3 separate regions of the Homo sapiens genome follow, and all the other regions are linked to region 2. The links are contacts of gene promoters, found by promoter capture Hi-C in blood cells and fetal thymus (Javierre and others, 2016). All regions are on one chromosome and are shown on one strand. The core of a region is centred on a gene start or on the middle of the fragment in contact, and the rest is flanking DNA. Distances in the headings are between cores, read along the strand shown. Region 1 has its middle 300 kb from the start of KCNH7. Region 2 holds the start of GRB14 (growth factor receptor bound protein 14). Region 3 has its middle 330 kb from the start of KCNH7.

The links. Contacts are between HindIII fragments. The CHiCAGO score rates a contact against its expected background, and 5 or more counts as called.
Region 1: a contact is called between a fragment that was not itself captured here and the fragment with the promoter of GRB14 in region 2, in 1 of 17 cell types (M1 macrophages). The highest score is 5.8, in M1 macrophages.
Region 3: a fragment that was not itself captured here is called in contact with the fragment with the promoter of GRB14 in region 2 in 3 of 17 cell types (M2 macrophages, M0 macrophages and endothelial precursors); the score reaches 9.5 in M2 macrophages.

The regions. Positions count from the first base shown.
Region 1 is chr2:163,142,197-163,145,137 of GRCh38, reverse strand. No RefSeq gene overlaps it. Among named protein-coding and RNA genes, the nearest start is that of KCNH7, 300 kb to the right of the region's middle. The HindIII fragment of the contact is 701 bases long and covers 981-1,681 here.
Region 2 is chr2:164,619,816-164,622,796 of GRCh38, reverse strand. It overlaps GRB14 (growth factor receptor bound protein 14), which reads left to right and starts at 1,315. Exons shown (of 14, transcript NM_004490.3): 1 at 1,315-1,678; 2 at 2,978-2,981. The coding sequence starts at 1,488. The HindIII fragment of the contact is 9,303 bases long and covers 659-2,981 here.
Region 3 is chr2:163,163,322-163,166,305 of GRCh38, reverse strand. No RefSeq gene overlaps it. Among named protein-coding and RNA genes, the nearest start is that of KCNH7, 330 kb to the right of the region's middle. The HindIII fragment of the contact is 7,154 bases long and covers 1-2,984 here.

The sequences.
Region 1 (2,941 bases), core at 82-2,581, 1.5 Mb after region 2:
TGTGCATTCTTATAATCTTTTACCAAAAAACCCCCCACATTTTACTGTTCTTACACAACTTGCATGTAAGTATTTCCAGTAGTCTCAATTACATGTTATAATGGCAACTCCTAGTAATTATTAACTTTAATTTAAAACCTGGTAAATTGTTTTAATTGTGTGGGAGGTGCAGCCATGGTTTGACTCCCAGCATAATTAAGGGCGTGTGTGTCCCATATGTACCCTGGCCTTACCAACTGTGAAGCTAGCAAGTTAAATACTTCTCAAAATCCAAAAAGCAGTTTATAACCTCAAAGTACTTAGCAAACCTTACATATAACCTGCATAATTTAGTCACCTTATTTACACTTTGATGACATCTGCCTTTTGCCAATAATCTTTAAGGCTGTTTTTATTCCTCAAAAATTAAAGTCACATGAACTGAAAGGTACAACGGCTTTTATCTTCCCTTTAAAAAATATTTGATCCAAGTGCTTGTCTTTCTTTAGGCCAAGTTAATTAGAGTTCTTTTTACAGACATCACACACACACATATAACTACACACACAGGCAGGAGAAAACCCATTCCACTGGTGGTGTGCTTTAAGATACAGGACTAGGAAAACATGCAGATATCAAGCCAGAAAGGAACTCATTCCCTAAGGCAGGATTGCTAAGCAAAGCCTTGCCACGGAGTTACAGGCCATGCCCCCAGGATGTTAAATAAGATGGAGGCCTGCAGAGAAGTTTGCTATGAACCATACAGACATGCAAAGCACACTAGATTGGCTACAGCTTAAGGTCAACCTCACAAATCCTTTTTCATAATTAAAACTTTACAGAGAATATAAACAGTGATCCTTATCACTTCTAGCCTAGTAAAACGCCTTCCAAATGGAAAAGAAACTAAAAGTTACCTGCTGATGTTGTAGGGAAAAGGATGCCTGGGGAATCAATGTCTTATTCTTACACAACTGATTCCTCCACCAGGGAGAAAAGCTTAATTACTGTCCAATGAAGTTGAACCCTTGGCTGAGGAAAGGCATGGACACGTGACATTCCCCACCCCCAGCCGGGAGTGGAAGGGGAGTGAGGAACCGTCGCTCACCCATCGAGCCTGAAACTAGAAGAAAAAGGCCATGGAAAAGCCCCTGATCCTGGGAGTGACAGGGGTGGAGGTATGGTTTCCTCTACCCTCAGAAGTCCGAGGATTAAAAGGCTTAGAAGTGACAGTGAAAGGTCTTGAGTTCCCATTTCAGTCGCCCCTTCTAAGCCCCAAGTTGGGTGCCAAAGATATTGTAGGACTTTTTCCTTAGTTCAGTTAGGAGCTGGGTTCTTGTCAAATGGCCATCAGAGATTAGGCTCACAGACAATTTGAAGGGTGAGAATAATGGAATTTATTGGGCAAAAAGAAAAAAAAAAAAGCAAACAGGGACCCTCTGCAAAGCCAGGGTCCTGCTAGTGTGCTTCCCACCCGGCAGGTTGAATTCCAGGTTCTACCCAGGAAGAAGAGGAACCATGTTCCTCCTCCACTGCAAATGGCATGAACTCCTGTGGCTTCACCCCAGTGTGCACTCCTCCCAGTACACAGGCTAGTTGGACTTTCTCTGGGGACCCCTTCCCACCAGGCCGTCTCATTATCAGAATTATGTATGCATATATAATTATGTTATTAGTTGTAATGCTTTCTTTTATCAAAGCTTTTACCATTCTTAGAAAGAGGGTTCAGGTAACTAGCAGTAGGGATGGGTCCTGGGAATAATTTCTCTTTATAGGCCTGTTTTTTTCTGACTCTTAATGTTCTATCAGGGGCAGCACTGAAGACTTTAGACCAATGCAAGAATATGTGTATTTACAAAATGCCCACTGAATACTCTCTCTCTCTCTCTCTCTCACACACACACACACACACACACACACACTTTGGCACTCAGTTATCGAAACTTCAATTTTAAAATTTGTTGATAAAGAATACTGTGTTTCCCAACAGTAGTAGATAAATGAGGTCTTAGCTCTTCAAATAGCATAACTATTGACATATGATCACCAACTTTGTACTTAAAATGGCATGAACTTTATCGGCCAAAACTACAGTTAACAATATTTTCTCTTCTTGAAGCATTATTGTAGGTGATATTGTGTATGTATAATTAGATATACTATGTATATACAATATGTTACATATTATATTGTAAAATGCTTACAAATGGCTAAAATATGACTAACTCCTCCTTTCCCTTATTTTGCTTTTTGATCACTATCAATTAATCTCAGGACCTGAGTTATAATTTCACAAGAATTTGAACTTTATTTTTCTGCGGAGAGTCACGTGATTTGTAAGTATGAATCTTATCATTGCACATTATTTCTTAATTTGTTGTTTTACCCTTAGCATTTACCAAAAACTCTAATTTACATCCCCTCTATTATCCTATCATCTTTCTACATACCATCTTCTTCATTTAAAAAAGACAAATTTGTTTGGAGTTATTAAAAAAGTAAATAATGATCAAGGAAAAACTGAGGTCACAAGGGAATACTTCTCTGAGAAACGTATGTTTGACCTAGATTGCAAGTTTGCTCTATAAAAAAGTGTGCCTTTATTCTCGTGCTCTGTTAACATTGCATTACTATAAAAAGTCAGACTAACAAAATCCCAGCAGAATATGTACATTACAGCGGTTACTAAGGTAACTCCTTTAAATTTCTCTAAATAGAAAAAATTAAAAATATATTATTTGAGGGCAGATAAGTTAAGTCTGTCCCAAGGCTTTCTAAGAGTATTTTTGTGGCAGCAATAAATGACTGTAAGGAAAATATCCTGGATCTAAACTGAGTCTGAGTCACAGGTACATAATTAATTGACCGATATAAATGAAAATAAAACAGCATAGGATAAAATCCTTCTGAAGTCCCTTTTAGGTGCCCACAAGAAAGAGTGGCCTCAAGGAGGACTAAAAAT
Region 2 (2,981 bases), core at 66-2,565:
CAGGTCACTTCTGGGCCTTAATTTTGACATTAGGAAAATAAAGAACTTGGATTCCCTGAACTGTGACTCAAGGATTTTCTGTCTTCACGGAGTGCCCCAGGTTTCCTCACAGGTTGGGAATTAGTGACCCCTGGGTTCTCCAGTGGTCGGTGCCTCGGTGGGAGAGAATGCACTGAGATGGGGGAGGGGAGCTGCTGCTTTCTTCTGGAGGCAGTGTTTACCTTTCCCTGGGCAGAGGTTGTTGAAATTAAGAAAACCTGGTAAAGCAGATGCCAGGGACAGATATTACCTAATTTGGTCAAAGAACAAAGACCCTGTGAAACATTTGGAAATCCTCAACGGTGCATAGGGACGGGCACACTTACTGGAAGAGCAGAAACAGGATCACCCAGCATTTCAGAGTAGGGTTGCTGCATCTCAGAGGGTGAGCATAATAATGTCATTACTATTTCGAACAGTCTGGGTTTTTGAGAAGGAAGCTTCTGGGTTGGAATATTGACTCCACCAGCTACTAGTGCTATGTTACTAGTGCAAGGTACTCGATGGCTTTGAGCCCCAGTTTCCTTTTGTGTAAAATGAGATAAACATCTAATTTATGGAGCTGTTGAGAGGATGGAATAGGTAGCGTAAGGCAACCTGGAATTCATTAATGTAAGCTTCTCTCATTACCATAAAACTAATAGTCTTTCTAATTCCAGACACCTTCAGGTTTACTCATGCTTTACTGAGAATTCTCAAAATCTCAGTAGTTTTCTATAATGATTGGACTCCTTGCTCCCTATCAACCCCCCAATCTTTGGCTGCGGAGTGGATGGAAGAAGAGGCACGTGGGGAAGGACTGGGGCAAACCCTCTGGTGTCCTGGCCTCCTGGCCCGGTGGGGACTGTCATGGCGGCCCAGCAACAGCTTAGGTGATCTCAGATGGCAGAGCAGAAAGAATGCAAGGGTATGAGGGTCAGGGCTGCGCGGACCCCTATCCCGCCTGCGGTCCTCCCGGCAAGCCCAGCGGGAGCGCCCGCTCGGCTGGGTCCCCGCCTCCAGCGGCGCCGGGGCCGCCCAGACCCTGGGCTCAGCCTCGCGCCCCGGTGCCCACCTGAGGAGGCAGCGGTCCCGGCCTCGCGTCCCGGATGGGACGGCGCGGGAGCAATGCCAGTGGCCCCGAGCGCCCCGGGCCACGCGCGGGGCCGGCCAGCCGCTCTCGCGCCCTCCCCGCCCCCTCCGCGCCTTGCCTCGCCGCCCGCGGCCCCCACCCACCGGCCGCTCCTCCCCTCTCCCCACCCTCCTCCTCCGCCCCCTCCCCTCCCCCGCCGCCTCGCAGATAGCTCGGCCGCGCGTCTCAGCCGCCGGGGCCCCGAGCGCAGGCGGCGAGGCCACCACACCTGCAGAGCGCTCGGGCTGCCTAGCCGGCACCTCGCCTCCCGCCGCGCAAACCCCTTCTCCCCACGCGCCGAGTCTCCCATGACGCCCGAGCCCCCCGGCCGGCGACAATGACCACTTCCCTGCAAGATGGGCAGAGCGCCGCGAGCAGGGCGGCTGCCCGGGATTCGCCGCTGGCCGCCCAGGTGTGTGGCGCTGCCCAGGGGAGGGGCGACGCCCACGACCTGGCGCCGGCCCCCTGGCTGCACGCGCGAGCGCTCCTGCCCCTTCCGGACGGGACCCGCGGCTGTGCTGCAGACAGGTAGGCAACCCTGGAGGGCGCGGGGGAGTGTCCTGGCTGGGCAGCCGGCGAGGGGGTGAGGAGGCGGTCCTAGGGGGTGAGCCATGTGCCCAGAGCTGGGCCAAGTTTGTAAAAGTCTCTGAAGACAATCCCCTTTGAGCTGGCTCCTACCGGATCAGCAGGACATTGCGATCTCACAGCGCCTTATAAATAGCATCACCGTTTCATTGAGAGCTCTCATCTCTCTCGCCTCTGCCCATCGGTGGTGAAACTAGGAGCTCAGGCTGCAGGCTGATCACCTTCTGTTCCTTCGTGGCCATGCATTTTCACAAAGTAAACTCTATTTTATTTTATATATTTTAAAAAAATCGTAGCATAAATGTATTCACCTCCCACATAGAGTCTTACAGCGACCCTGTAGAAGCAAAGCATGGATTGACATTCGAGCAGTCTTGCTGTTCGGCAGGAAAGAATAGAGGCTTTAAAGGGTTTCCCAATCTCCATAGCATTCAGCACTAAGTGCCTTTAGAGTTGCACATACTTTCGGAAAGAAAAAGGGTTACAGCAATACAAAAATCTATAGTCCTTTATATTCATACATTTAAATGTTACTTTTTTTTTCCTGATTTTCAAAGCGCTCCAACTTCAGTGAAGTTAAAATTACTCTCCAGTGGACTATAGTACATTTATACTAGCAAGTTCTATTAACTTACCGCCTCAAAACACTGCCTTGCTGTTTAATATCTATAAGCGCTTGAAAAATCAACAGACTGTGTGTGGGCAACATTGTGAATGAAATTTGAAGTGAGATGAACCACAGCTATAATTAATAAATCATAACTTCCAAAAGTGATTAGTAAAATATCATAAGGATGAATGCACTAAATGCAACTTAGAGACTGTCAATATCATGGATGCATAACAATGTATGACTTCTCAGGTGATGTTTGGATTAGTAATTGTATAGTCTATTTTTCTGTTTCAGGAAAATTATCAAAAGTGATGGAGTTTCTATGCCTGGTGATTTAAAGGCAAGAGAGAGAGAAGGCGGTGGGGGGGGGAGGGGTGGTGGGAGGGGAGAGAGAGAGAGAGAGAGAGAGACAGAAAGAGAGGAACTATAGGAGATTTGTTTGTATCTAATTAACATACTGTATTTTGACCCATAGAAAGTACATCACAGACCTTTTCTATATACTTTATATAATATGAGCCTTGTCACAGAGTGGTACATGTTCGCCTTAGCACACTTTTTATTCCTGACAGCAATTATATTTTACATTCTGTTTTATGTAAATTACATCCTATGTTCTCTTACTGTAGGAGA
Region 3 (2,984 bases), core at 378-2,877, 1.5 Mb after region 2:
TAATGCTTAAATATGTCCACTAATAGACAAATAATGTTTGTAGCAGTCCTATAGGTAGTAGCCCAAAAAATGAAGAAATCTAGTTGTCTATCCATGGTAAAGTGTGCAAATATTTTGTGGCATATGTATAAAAGGAAATATTCTACTGCAATGAGATTTAACAAGCCAAAACTATAATTAACAACATGTATGAATACCACAAATACAAAGCTGAGCAAAATAAGCCAGATACAAAAGAATGCATACTGTATGATTCCACATATGTAAAGTTCACAAATAGACACAAATGTATCTATACAGTGTTAGAAGTTAGGATAGTGGCTACTGTCTGGGGTTTAATGATTGGAAGGAGTTGCAAAGGGGTTTTGGCATGCTAACAATGCACTGTTTCTTGATCTGGATACTGGTTACATAGGCATGTTAATTTTGTAAAAATCTATCAAGCAAGCTACATTCTTATGACTTTTTTACTTTTTTAAGTCTTTTCCTTCCATAAAATTACTTTTTAAAGTCTGGGGAGAAAGTTATGAAAGAATTAATAACATATCCTAGAACTAAGAAATATGTGTTTCCAAGATAAACAGAACAATAAATGATCTAGGTCAATGAATAAAAATAGAAGCACATTAAGACAGATCATCATGAAAATTAGAACAAAAGGGAGAAAAAATCAAAAGCTATATGGAAGAGAAAAATTACACAAAACCATCAGAAATCATTGGCACTGGACATCCAGAGAGCAGCCCAGAAAATCTAAAAAATAATAAAGCAATGTCTTTAAAACATTAAGAGTAAATGATGCTCAATCTACCCTTCTATACCTAGCTAAATTAGCAAACATTAGGAAAAAGTAATTTTGAAATTAAGAAAGTTCTCAAAATTTTTACTTTCAATATGCCTTTACTTAGAAGTCACTAGATGATACTGTGCTCCATAAAATGAAGAAATAAACTATGTATGGCAAATTTTCCAAAGCAGGTCATCAAAGTATTTTCTATTTTATGTGCTCTCTGCAATACGAACTTCCCACTCCTTCATCAAGAGTCAGAGTCTATTTCTATACCCACTTCAATCTGACAAGCTCTGTGACTGCTTTGACTAATAAAATATTATATAAGTGAAGCATGAAAGCTCCATGAATGACCTTTAACTGGTCTGGCAGCTGCCACTTCAGAAACCATCTGTCATGTGAGAAGTGCTCAGACCACCATGCTATGAGGAGACCAAGCTACAGGGAAAGACAATGGAGAATGGCAAACTATGTGGAATGTAGGAAAGGCCAAGGGACATTGCAGTAATGAATATATGAGTGAAGAAACCATTTTGGATGTAGAACATTAAGCCCAAGCTATTTCGGTTGGCACTGGGTACACCACAGACAAATGTCGTAGTAAAGCCCTTCCTTAATACTTGACCTTCAAAATAGGGAAAAAAAAGAAATATTTATTTCAATCCACTATGTTTAGAAATGGTTTGTTTTGCAGTAATAGATTATCAGATCACTTAGAAGGATAAATACAGAAATACAAAACTTAATGCAAGAGAAGGGAGAGATGAAAAGTCACTTTCAAGGAAGATGATGAAGTGGGGACTTCGAAGAAAGCTGCTCAAACAGCATCTCGTTCTAGAGGGCAAGACTCCAAGAAGAAAATCTAATAAATTTAAAAAGGGTATATTTGTATGTATTCAGATGAGACTTTTAATACTTTCTGAGAAAATTTGGGGTTGTCTCAGTCACGCAGAAAAATAAAGCACATGTTAATTCAAGAATAAATAAAGTGTGTAAAAAGGAATGTAACAACATCCAAATTCTTATTTTAGATGTTAGTTACATAATTATTAAAATGTAGGTGAAATTACACAATGCAAATTGAAAATTTTAGGAAGTCAATGTAGACACTTAGCAAATTTATGTGTTTGTATGTTTGGTGGAGGAGAGGTCTTGGAGGTTTTGTGGGAGAACTAAATTCTTGTCTACCTATAAGAAATACCAGAATAAATTGGTTGTATAGAAATTTGAAAGTAAATACCAGAAGAAATAGCTGAAACAGTTCAAAGTATTTGTCTCATGAAAATGGAAGTTAGGGATAGAAGGAAATCAGGAAATAAAATAATCTTTTTCATATTACTAAACAAATACACATATTCCTTTGATAAATTTGTTTATCCTAAAATCAAGGAAAAGATATAACAAAAAAATAGTAACCAAAAGAAAGAAATATTTTTGATAAAAAACAAAAAAGCATGATATACTGGTATAAGAAAAAAGGTGTGTCAACAATATCTAAAAATTTAAGGTAAATATAAATAATATTTTGCTCCAAAAATATATAAAGCAAAATTTGATAGAACATCTAGCAGAAACATAGAAATCAACAAATACAGTGGGGGATTTTGATATACTCCATCTCATGCTAAGACTGATGACACAGACATAAGCAAATATATGGAAGATTAAAGTGCATTTAAGCATAATAAGCTAAAATTAATTTTTATAGACTTTAGATTATATATTACTTTGATGCATACACAAAATATGACAAAATTGATTTATACTAAATATTAAATTTAAAAGAATATGATAGAGGTTCACACACACACACACACATACAAAAGACAAGACAAGGCCTGACAATTTCAACTGGTAAAGCTGCGAAGATCCACTTTTAGGGGCTGAGTGACTGCCATTTTGTTTAGGAGCCAAATCTAGATTGCAGTGAAAGGGCTTTATATTCTGCAGTTCTATTCTGAAGAAGGTGGAGCAGAAAGCCCCTAACTCATCAGATCCAGGATGTGATGAAACATTCTTACAATAGCCTTCCATGGCAGATAAAGAGGTAAGTGGGAGATGGCCTCACAGCAGCTCCTTAGGGGTCTCCCACACTCTCAAGTCTGGTGATACCATAAGATGTGCTGCCAAGATTCAGATAAACTGTATTTCGAGCTTTTGCCTAGTGAATATATTAAAGGTCACCAGAGTAGTA